4 separate regions of the Homo sapiens genome follow, and all the other regions are linked to region 2. The links are contacts of gene promoters, found by promoter capture Hi-C in blood cells and fetal thymus (Javierre and others, 2016). All regions are on one chromosome and are shown on one strand. The core of a region is centred on a gene start or on the middle of the fragment in contact, and the rest is flanking DNA. Distances in the headings are between cores, read along the strand shown.

What was found. Contacts are between HindIII fragments. The CHiCAGO score rates a contact against its expected background, and 5 or more counts as called.
Region 1: a fragment that was not itself captured here is called in contact with the fragment with the promoter of CYP2R1 in region 2 in 13 of 17 cell types (naive CD8 T cells, total CD4 T cells, naive CD4 T cells and 10 more); the score reaches 13.5 in naive CD8 T cells.
Region 3: a contact is called between a fragment that was not itself captured here and the fragment with the promoter of CYP2R1 in region 2, in 2 of 17 cell types (naive B cells and naive CD4 T cells). The highest score is 6.7, in naive B cells.
Region 4: a contact is called between a fragment that was not itself captured here and the fragment with the promoter of CYP2R1 in region 2, in 1 of 17 cell types (naive B cells). The highest score is 5.1, in naive B cells.

Annotation. Positions count from the first base shown.
Region 1 is chr11:14,454,045-14,456,872 of GRCh38, reverse strand. No RefSeq gene overlaps it. Among named protein-coding and RNA genes, the nearest start is that of COPB1, 44 kb to the left of the region's middle. The HindIII fragment of the contact is 615 bases long and covers 961-1,575 here.
Region 2 is chr11:14,890,873-14,893,830 of GRCh38, reverse strand. CYP2R1 (cytochrome P450 family 2 subfamily R member 1) reads left to right here and starts at 1,600. Exons shown (of 5, transcript NM_024514.5): 1 at 1,600-1,850. The coding sequence starts at 1,626. It also overlaps a transcript of PDE3B not described here. RefSeq lists a silencer at 1,853-2,092. The HindIII fragment of the contact is 6,013 bases long and covers 1-1,636 here.
Region 3 is chr11:14,471,255-14,474,008 of GRCh38, reverse strand. The region is part of intron 14 of COPB1 (coat protein complex I subunit beta 1); the gene reads left to right. Among named protein-coding and RNA genes, the nearest start is that of COPB1, 27 kb to the left of the region's middle. The HindIII fragment of the contact is 268 bases long and covers 1,191-1,458 here.
Region 4 is chr11:14,599,915-14,602,614 of GRCh38, reverse strand. It overlaps a transcript of PSMA1 not described here. Among named protein-coding and RNA genes, the nearest start is that of PDE3B, 43 kb to the left of the region's middle. The HindIII fragment of the contact is 2,180 bases long and covers 321-2,500 here.

The sequences.
Region 1 (2,828 bases), core at 19-2,518, 440 kb after region 2:
GAATCATAATGAAGAGTAGATAATCCAAAATAGATTTTTTAATCATTCACATTTAGTTTGGGGTGTTCTATGTTTGTTAGGAATAAAACTGGTTCTAACCAATTACTGAAGCTGGTACTGGGAGGATTCAACTAGAGAGGATTCAAAAAGCTGCCTTTTTCTCTGTTGCCTCCGTGCCTTACTCACATTTAGTTTAGGGTGTTCTATGTTTGTTAGGAATAAAACTGGTTCTAACCAATTACTGAAGCTGGTACTGGGAGGATTCAACTAGAGAGGATTCAAAAAGCTGCCTTTTTCTCTGTTGCCTCTGTGCCTTACTCACTCGTCTCCTTTTCCTCACTTCACACTAGGACTGGGTACCATCACACTGCAGTATAATTCCAAATGCATTTCCAAGCTAAGTTTCCCAGCGTCTGATTGTGCTTTCCTTTTGGCCTTTACTTTCATTGGGGGTGATTGAGGTAGTCTGATTTTTTAGCTAAGTCTAAACTTAAGGCTATTATTTGTCTACCAGCTAGGGTTCAGGCTGCATTCCCTGTGAGTCCTTAGATAAGGTCTGTGAAAGACTGAAAGCATCTCCTATTTCATTAAGAATGAAATGATTTGTTTGGAGTATAAGGAGATTGATACCTTGTATGATGTCATAAACTGTGAAGCCACTTGCTTTTAAAAAAAAAAAAAGAAAAAAAAAGCCTAGATTACAGGGCATTTGAGATTCCAGAACACTGAGATCTTAGAACAAAGCCAGGGCTTATCAAATGGGAAAGATATACTGGAAGTGCAGAGAAGGGATGTCGATTCAAGGGTAGAGATTTGCAATGAGAGCGAAGGAGCTGGTGCAACTTTGGATTAGATCATCATTTCCCAAACTCTGTTCTACTGAACATTAGCTTCCTTAGATGTCATTAGATATTCTGAGTGAAAAAGTAATTCCATAGTCAAGTAAGTTGGGGAAAAGCTTCAAACTGTCCTGCACTGGAGATTCACAATGTACATTAGCATACCAGAGATTCTGAGAGGAAAGCAGATTAGTTTGGTTTAACCCAGTATATCCTAACCTTACTTTACCAGGGAATCCTTTTTCCATGACCTATTGACAATATATGGGACAGGAAAAGTGACTTAGCCTGTTAATGATATTAGTGTTGTAATCACAGTTAACCAGTATCACATTTCATATCTGAAGGAATTATGCCTGTGTACATCCTAGAATATATCTCGGTTGATACTCTTAGAAAGTTGCCTGCCTGACATATTCAGGCCATTTTTGTTGGAATCAGATTGCCTCACATTGCCATTTTCTTAAATTCATAAATAAGGAGAACAAAGAAGTTAACACAATTGTCAGATACATTAAACTGTTTACTTCATTAGCATTTCATTAGCTTTGTGCATGTAATAAATGTGAACTGAATTGGATAGCAGCACATTGTTGAAAGAAGCTGTTTACACTATGCCCTGTTATTTGGGATATAATATACATTCAAAGATAGTAGCTGTTCACATTATAAGATACCATATAATTAGGACCATGATGTCCGGTAGAGAATAAACATTAAATACCAAATGAAAGCTTAATATATTAATGTATTGAATGTGGATAAACCTGTAAAGCTTACAGGAGCATTAAATGGCTTACATTGCAGTAATGTCACAACACTAGAGGGAGCTCTGTGCAGTGATTTTTTTTTTTTTTTTTTTTTTTTTTCATTTTGCAATTAGAAGAGATTGGCACTCAGTTGTTTTATAAGAAGAAAAAGGGTCAAGTGTGGTGGCTCGCACCTATAATCCCAACACTTTGGGAGGCCAAGGCTGGAGGGTGGATTGAGGCCAGGAATTCAAAACCAACCTGGGCAACATAGACCCTGTCTCTACAAAAAAATTTTACAAATTAGCCTGGTATGGTGGCATGTGCCCGGGAAGCTGAATCGGGAGAAATTCTCGGGACCAGGAGTTCAAGGCTGCAGCGAGCTATGATTGTGCCGCTGCAGTCCATCCTGGGTGACAGGGTGAGACTCCCTCTCTTTTAAAAAAAAATTTTTTTTTAAAGGAGCCTGGGCATGGTGGTTTATGCCTGTAATCCCAACACTTTCGGAGGCCAAGGTGGGAGTATCACTTGAGCCCAGAAGTTCAAGACCAGCCTGAGCAACAAAGAGATCCCCCATCAAAAAAAAAAAAATTTAAGAAAAAGCAAGATTATTTTTCCTTTTTTAAAAAACTTTTTTTTTTTTTTTTGAGACGGACTCTGGCTCTGTCACCAGGCTGGAGTGCAGTGGCACAATTGGCTCACTGCAACCTCCACCTCCCTGGTTCAAGCAATTCTCCTGCCTCAGCCTCCTGAGTAGCTGGGACTACAGGCGTGGGCCACCATGCCCAGCTAATTTTTATCTATTTTTAGTAGAGATGGGTTTTCACCATATTGGCCAGGATGGTCTCAATCTCAACCTCGTGATCTGCCTACCTCAGCCTCCCAAAGTGCTGGGATTACAGGCGTGAGCCACGGTGCCCGGCCTTTTTTTTTTTTTTTGGGACGGGGTCTGGCAGTGGTGCGATCTTGGCTCACTGCAACCTCCACCTCTCTCACCTCATCACCCGAGTAGCTGGGACCACAGGCACATGCCACCATGCCCAGCTAATTTAATTTTTGTATTTTTTGTAGAGACAGTTTTGCCATGTTGCCCAGGCTGGTCTCAAACTCCTGAGCTCAAGCAATCCATCCACATTGGCCTCTCAAAGTTTTGGGATTACAGGCGTGAGCCACTGCACCTGGCTATTTTTCTATTAGCAAGGTAATTCGTAAATGAGAACAAAGAGAAGGAAGTTAATAT
Region 2 (2,958 bases), core at 351-2,850:
GGTTTCATGGCAAGAAGAATTAAGGTTGCAGATGGAATTAAAGGGCTAATCAGCTGATCTTTGAGTTGGGATTATCCAGGTGGGCCCAATATAATCACAACGATCCTTATAAGTGGAAGAAGGAAGTAGAAGAGAGATAATCAGAGAGACAGCGATGTTGGAAGGATTCAAACTGACATTAATGGCCTTGAAGAGGAAGGAATGGGGACGAAAGCCAAGGAATGTGGGCAGCCTCTAGAAGCTGAAAAAGACAAGGAAATAGAATCTCTCCTACAGTCTCTAGAAAGAATGAAGCCCCACTAACACCTCTCTGTCAGCCCTGGAAGACTCATTTTGGACTTCTCACCTCAAGAATTGTAAGAAAATAAATTTGTGTGGTTTTAAGCCATCAGATTGGTGGTAATTTATTACAACAGTAGTAGGAAACAAATACACTTCTTTAGCAGTTGATCTCAGCTCCAATGTCATCTTCCTAATAAGACTTTCCTTGACAGCCCTTGCCTGCTAAAGTATCTCCCCAACCACCAGGCGTTTTCTATAACGCACTTTTTGTTTGCTTCTGATTATTGAAAATTATTGTATTTCCATGTCATTGCTCTTCCCTCTCATAAGAATGTAAGTTATAGAAAGGACTTTGTTGCTCTTATTCACCTATGTATCTCCATTGCTTAGGACATGGGAACATAGTAGACATTCAATAAATATTTGTTGTGTGAATGAGTCGTAAGCTAATGAGGACCATAAAACTCATGCCACTGCTAAATCACAATTAGAGGGCAGCTGTTAGAAGAGTCCCAAACCCAGTAAGTCCTGTATTGCAAGGAACTGCCCAATAGAAAACAGGAATAAAAACAATTAGCAAGAATAATATGAAATCAGTTGCTTAATTCCAGGCAGTGGAGGCAGAAATCTTGAATAGTAAATACTCTCCGTGAACAAGTGCAGACAAGAGTCCCGTGATTGCCAATAAGTAATCAGTTTGGAAAGACCAGAGAGGGGTCAAATATAGGTAAACTGAGTTAATCACATAAACTGCTCAATCATCACAATTATTAAAAGATCACACACAAAAATACATTAACAGGAGAAAAATAGTAAAACAGGACAAAACAGTAAAATTACTTTCTTTTACTACTGATGGGTCAATTTTCTACTGGAAATTCTGAAAAGTATCAGGTTCAGCTAAAGACTGCAGTGTTGATCATCTCTCCAGTTTTCCTAGTGTGAAATGAAATAAGCAGACCTGGTACTTAAAAAGACACTTTAAGAAAGGTCTGGCCCCAGAGAGGCAGGATCCGCCTAGCCCAGTGAGTGAGGCCGTCCTGACACCTCGTCAATGCCCTTGTGTCAACATTCTAGAAAACGGACTCCTGGCTCATTGCTCCGCCTAGAGCCGCGCCACCTCCAAAGGGTAGCACCGGCCACCCGCTCCGCAAAGTCCACTCTCAGCCGCGCAAAACTAGAAGGTAGTTGTCCCGAAGGGGCCTGAGCGCTCACTCAGTCAGCCAATGGCCACGGAGCTAGGGCGGGACCTGAGGGTATCCTGCCAATGGGAGTATGGCAGGGCTGGAGGGAGTGCCTGGGTCTCAGGGCTGCTGTGGAGTTCGCACCTCCAGCTCGGGCCGATGTGGAAGCTTTGGAGAGCTGAAGAGGGCGCGGCGGCGCTCGGCGGCGCGCTCTTCCTGCTGCTCTTCGCGCTAGGGGTCCGCCAGCTGCTGAAGCAGAGGCGGCCGATGGGCTTCCCCCCGGGGCCGCCGGGGCTGCCATTTATCGGCAACATCTATTCCCTGGCAGCCTCATCCGAGCTTCCCCATGTCTACATGAGAAAGCAGAGCCAGGTGTACGGAGAGGTACAGCCCCGACGGGCCCCGGGCAGGGAGGGCCGCCAGGCTGGCCCGGGCTGGCCAGGGCCTTCCTGGTTGGACTTATGGCCGCCCCTGGGCCGACTAGTCGGGACCTCTCCGTGTGCCGGCTGCCCTTTGAGGGACACCCGCTTCCCGGGTCTGGAAGGGAGAAGTCCTCGACGCCGTGCCCCCTTGCAGGGGGAGCCCCGCCCCTGCCGGTGACCCACTCCGGGCCGAGGCTCCGAGGCGATCCAGTCCTGATTTTCCCGCTACCGCTCGAGCTCTTGCTCCTGCGCCTGCGCCGTTTGGCTCGCCAGCCGCGCCGCCACTTCAGGTCCAGGGTGGACGCATGCCCTCAGGTGCGGGCGTCTTGCGAGTCGGCCTCGCAGCTCTGTGGAAGCTGCACGCGGCTTGTCGGAAAATCAAGGCGTTCTGAGTTCTAGATGGTTAATAGCAGGTTCTTCGGTGTCTGCAGTCGACGAACGACTGGTGTAGGCGTTTGCTGTGAGAATGGAGAATGCAGGGGAACGCCCCTGACTGAGAAGCGGGCCCTGGGAAACGATTGTGAACGCGTGAATGAATTGATGACTAAAATCCGCTGCGGGGGTCCTACAGCGCAGATGGTAATGCCGTTCTGACTGGCTGGGAACGGCACCTTAGCAGATACTTAAAAGGCGCCTTCTGTGTGCCACTGTCACTGCCAACTTGGTGACTCATTTAAAACTCATAACCAGCCGGTGAGGTCGGTACTTCGCTCCTCCTCATTCTGCGGAGGGGAAAGCAGCACGGAAATGCCCTGTGACTGGCAGCGGAAAAGGCGACCACCGCTTGTGTGTGGGTGTCCCGACGTCCGGAGGGGGCAGGAGTTTCCACGGGTCCTGGGACAGAGCTCACCTGTTTTGTTTTGAATTACACTTATTTATATGCAACTACAGGCCTGACGCTAGCGGTGAAGAAGGCAGATACAGCCTTTTAAGGAGTTGGCAGATGAGTGGGAGAGAGAAAACTAATCTCATTATCGGCCACAGGCTGTGGTCAGTGTTTTGAAGGAAAAGTACAGGGATGTTTGGCAACTGTGGTATTTCAGGTTTGACCTTAAATCCTTACTTAAACC
Region 3 (2,754 bases), core at 75-2,574, 420 kb after region 2:
CTGCAGATTCAACCAACTATGGATTGAAAATATCTTTTTTAAAAAATGATAAACAGTAAAAAATAATAGAAAGTTGAAAACAATGCAGTGTAACAATTATTTACATAGCATTTACAGGCATACTTCATTTTATTGTACTTTGCACATATTGCTTTTTTTTTTTTTTTTAAACAAATGAAGGTTTGTGGGAACCCTGAGTTGAGCAAGTCTGTTAGCATCATTTTTCCAAATAAGCATATGCTCACTTCATATCTCTGTGTTACATTTTGGTAATTCTCACAATATTTCAAACTTTTTCATTATTATTACATCTGTTATGGTGATCTGTTATCAGTGATCTTTAATGTTACTATCATAGTTGTTTTGGGATGCCAGGAACCATTCCCATATAAAATAGTAAACGTAATCAATAATTGTTGTGTGTGTTCCGGCTGTTACCCCGTCTCTTTCCTCCTTGGGCCTCCCTATTCTATTCCCTGAGATACCACAATATTGAAATTAGGCCGGTTAATAATCCTACAGTGGCTTCTAAGTGAAGGGAAGAGTCACATGTCTTTCACTTTAAATCAAAAGTGAGAAATAATTAAACTTAGTAAGGAATGCATGTCAAAAGCTGAGCTAAGCCAAAAGCTAGGCTGCTTTTGCCAAGTAGGTAGCCAAGTTATGCATGCAAAGGAAATGCTCTTAAAGGAAATTAAAAGTGCTACTCCAGTAAACACATGAATGATAAGAAAGTGAAACATTTGGCAGGCGTGGTGACTCACACCAGCACTTTGGGAGGCCCGAGACAGGCGGATCACGAGGTCAGGAGTTCGAGACCAGCCTGGCCAACATGGTGAAACCCTGTCTCTACTAAAAATACAAAAATTAGCCAGGTGTGGTGGCAGGCGCCTGTACTCCCAGCTACTTGGGAGGCTGAGGCAGGAGAATTGTTTGAACATGGGAGGCAGAGGTTGCAGTGAGCTGACATCACACCACTGCACTCCAGCCTGGGAGACAGAACAAGACTCCGTCTCGAGGAAAAAAAAGAAGAAGAAAGAAAGCGAAATAGCTTTATTGCTGATAGAAAGTTTGAGTGGTCTGGATAGAAGATAAAACCAGCCACAAGATTCCCTTAAGCCAAAAGCCTAATCCAGACTAAGACCTTAACTCTCTTCAATTCCATGAAGGCTGAGAGAGGTTAGGAAGCTTCAGAAGAAGAGTTTGAAGCTAGCAGAGGTTGATTCATGAGGTTTAAGGAAATAAGCCCGTCTTCATAATGTAAAAGTTTGACATGAAGTAGCAAGTCCTAATGGAGAAGCTGTGGCAAGTTATCTGGAAGATCTAGCCAAGATCATTGGTGAAGGTGACCACACTAAACAACAGATTTTCAGTGTAGACTAAACAACCTTATATTGGAAGAAGATGCCATCTAGGACTTTGGTAGCTAGAGAGAAGTCGGTGCCTGGCTTCAAAGCTTCAAAGGATAGGCTGACTCTTTTGGTAAGGGCTAATACAACCAGTAACTTAAGTTGAAGCCATTGCTCATTTCCCATTTTGAAAATCCTAGGGCTCTTAAGAATTGTGCTTAATCAACTCTGTCTGTGCTCTGTCAGTGGAACAACAAAGCCTGGATGTCAGCACATCCTCTTTACGGGATGGCTTACTAAGTATTTTAAGCTCACCATTGAGACCTACTGCTCAGAAATAAAAGACTCCTTTTAAAATATTACTGTTCATTGACAATTTAGCTGGTCACCCAAGAGCTCTGATGGAGATGTAGAAAGAAATGAATGTTTTCATGCCTGCTAAGACAACATCCATTATGCTGCCACTGATCAAGTAGTTTCAACTCTTATTATTTAAGAAACAGAATCCATAGAACATTTGTGGTAGTAGCGCAGAGTTGGTTACAATGTCCTACCACAGCAATTTCTGACATTCAAATTGGGCCTGTAGCAATGGGACTCCTTTTGATTCCTTCAGCTTTCGTATTATGTTGGTTATCTATACAGCAGGTTTCTAAATTGAAACACTTTCACTCACATCACTCATATTTCCTTCGTTTTTGGAGACTAACAGCTTGATCTAAAAAAAAATTTTTTTTTAGACGGAGTCTCACTCTTCTTGCCCAGGCCGGAGTGCCATGGCATGATCTCAGCTCACTGCAACCTCCGCCTCCTGGGTTTAAGCAATTCTCCTGGCTCAGCCTCCCGAGTAGCTGGGGCTACAGGCGCCTGCCACCACGCCTGTCTAATTTTTTTTGTATTTTTAGTAGAGACTGGGGTTTCACCATGTTGACCAGGCTGGTCTCGAACTGCTGACCTCAGGTGATCCGCCCACCTCGGCCTCCCAAAGTGCTGGGATTACAGGCATGAGCCACCGTGCCTGGCCAGGTTCTTTTTGTTTTTGTTTTAATTCCATTATAAGAAAAGCCATAAATGAGAGCCAGATAATTTACAAGGTATATTATCCCTTAATTGATTTGATTTTTGAGCAATAATTTATTTTGTAACTCTTTTGTGGGCATTTATTTATTCAGGTCTGGTCACAGTATAATCTTTAAAGTATGTTTTTTAAAAGTCTCCAACATTTTTTTATCTCAGAGTTGAATTTGCTTTCCTCTCCTGGTTGCATCACTTCTGGAAGTTGGGAGTGTTTACTGATACCTGCTTAAAAGAGCCAGTTTCTTGTAACATACCGAGTTAATAATGTTTGCACTGTTTGGTACAAGAAGGAAGTTTGGTTGCTTATAATCTCACTGGCACTCCTTCA
Region 4 (2,700 bases), core at 161-2,660, 290 kb after region 2:
TCCAAGATTATGAGCATGACTTTCTACTCCTCCCATCAAAAAAAGGTCAAATTTCATACACTTTGTAGACTGTAAAATTACAAGAAAAATAATATATATACATATACATATATAGAAATCAGTTTCTATTACTATGATTTTTTTTTCATACCTCTGGAAGTCTAAAAGGAGCTGGAAAGCCTGGCCCAGAGCTCTCCACCCAATGAATGTACCAGGTCAAGGAAGATAATATAAAACAAAGTCCACTCTTTTCTCCCAAACAAATGTCCCAAAGAGGTGGTGATAAATGAGACAGTTTTCCTTGCTACTCCCAAAAAGCTTGGTGATAGCTCAGCCTTTTCATGGCCAAGACAGTTTTGCCCAGGTGTCTAGTTCTGGGAAACGGTCTCTATCACATAACTGAAATTCCCTCTCCAATTGTAATTTAGTGTTCATGAGTTTCTCCATCCTGCTGGATCCTCTTGCTCTAATGGGAGGGATCTAAAAAATAGATGTGCCATTATAGATGGTTCTACTGAGCCGGAGCTAGGACCCACTTATGCATGTGTGCTATGCTGGGTGTGAAGTATGAAGCCATGAATCTATAGTGAGGAACCAATGAGGGCTCTATGTAAAGAATGAGAGGATTGACTAAATTTAGGGTAGACGTTAAAGGTGGAGAATGGTGAAGGGTGCGGGTAAACATTGATATCCTTACCTTTTTCTGACAGTAAGCCCTTCACAAGATTTTCTCATGCATGAGGTTATTTGGCATGGACCTTGACAGAATTCTCATTTAGCAAAATTGTTATGTACATAGGTATTGAGAGTTAGACAACTTGGATTTTAATCTCATTCTTTCACTTACTAGATATATGGCCTCGGACAAGTTACCTGAGCAAGTTCATGGAGTTGGGAGTAAGGGTGTTCACTTTTGCTTCTTAAGGCATCTATAAATCTTTTAAACTCTGATTCTGAAGCCCATGACATCCTGATTTTCCCCAAAGTGAGCATGTAGACAGGATTATGTGATCACGAAGAACCCCTTGTTCTATTTACATTAAGCCTCCATTCACCCAGAGTTACCAGCTCAAGAGACTGAGTCGGAGAGAGTTTACATCTTCTCCAGGCCATATCTAGAGGCTTTCAGGCAATAATGCAGGTAGCTAGATTTGTGTTTTGAGGTGGAAGAACGGCAGCCTTTGGTGGGTTTCAAGTGCAAATTTCATCCCAGACCCAGGGATAGTTATGTAGCTGGGCATCCAGGAGGCTAGAACTTAGTTTAGGAACAGGAAAGAATCCCTAAAATCCTTGTCTGTAGTAGTTTGGGGATTTTTACTCCAGTATTACACCATTGATCTGTCAGCTACTCCTCTCATGTTTGTTTCCAACACAAGTCCCACTCCCCCCAGTTTAGGCAGCACCCTTGAGTTAGCACTGACCCATTTGTGTTGCAAGACCCCGTGCATGTTGCTTGTGTAAATGATGTTTGGCTCCTTACTCCTGAAATAGCCAACTGGCAGTCACCTGAAATAGGGAGTCAAAGCTGAATTTCTAAAATGGAATAATGCATGACATAATGCTATTTACTGGGAATGAGTGATTTGTTTCCCTGTCTAAACTTTAATTTCTTTAACAGTGCTTCCAAGATATTTGGTTTTAAAAAAAACACATAAGAATACTAAACAAAAAATTGGAACTACACAAAAGTGGGAAAGAATGCCAATGTGAAAGCCAGAAATAAAGAAATGTTGGAGCATTCCAAGATGGCCAAATAGGAACAGCTCCTGTCTGCAGCTCCCAGCAGGATCGACGCAGAAGATGGGTGATTTCTGCATTTCCAACTGAGGTACCTGGTGCATCTCACTGGGACTGGTTGAACAGTGGGTGCAGCCCACAGAGGGCGAGCAGAAACAGGGTGGGGCATAACCTCACCTGGGAAGCACAAGGGGTCAGGGGATTTCCCTTTCCTAGCCAAGGGAAGCCATGACAGACTACCTGGGAAAATGGGACACTCCCGCTCAAATACAGTGCTGTTCCCAAGGTCTTAGCAACCAGCAGACAAGGTGATTCTCTTCCGTGCCTGGCTCGGCGGCTCCCACACCCACAGAGCCTTGCTCACTGCTAGCTCAGCAGTCTGAGATTGATCTGCGAGACAGCAGCCTGGCTCGGGGAGGGGCATCCACCATTGCTGAGGCTTGAGTAGGTAAAAAAGCGGTGGGAAACTCGAACTGAGCGGAGCCCACAACAGCTTAACAAGGCCTACTGCCTCTAGACTTCACCTCTGTGGGCAGGGCATAGCTGAACATAAGGCAACGGACAACTTCTGCAGACTTAAACGTCCCTGTCTCATAGCTCTGAAGAGAGCAGTGGTTCTCCCAGCATAGCGTTTGAGCTCTGAGAACGGACAGACTGCCTCCTCAAGTGGATCCCTAACCTCCGTGTAACCTAACTGGGAGACACCTCCCAGTAGTGGCCAACAGACACCTCATATAGGTGGCTGCCTCTCTGGGACGAAGCTTCCAGAGGAAGGACCAGACAGCAATGTATGCTGTTCTGCAGCCTCTGCTGGTGACACCCAGGCAAATAGGGTCTGGAGTGGAACTCCAGCAAACTCCAACAGACCTGCAGCTGAGGGACTTGACTGTTAGGAGGAAAACTAACAAACAGAAAGGAATAGTATCAACATCAACAAAAAGGTCATCTACACCAAAACCCCAT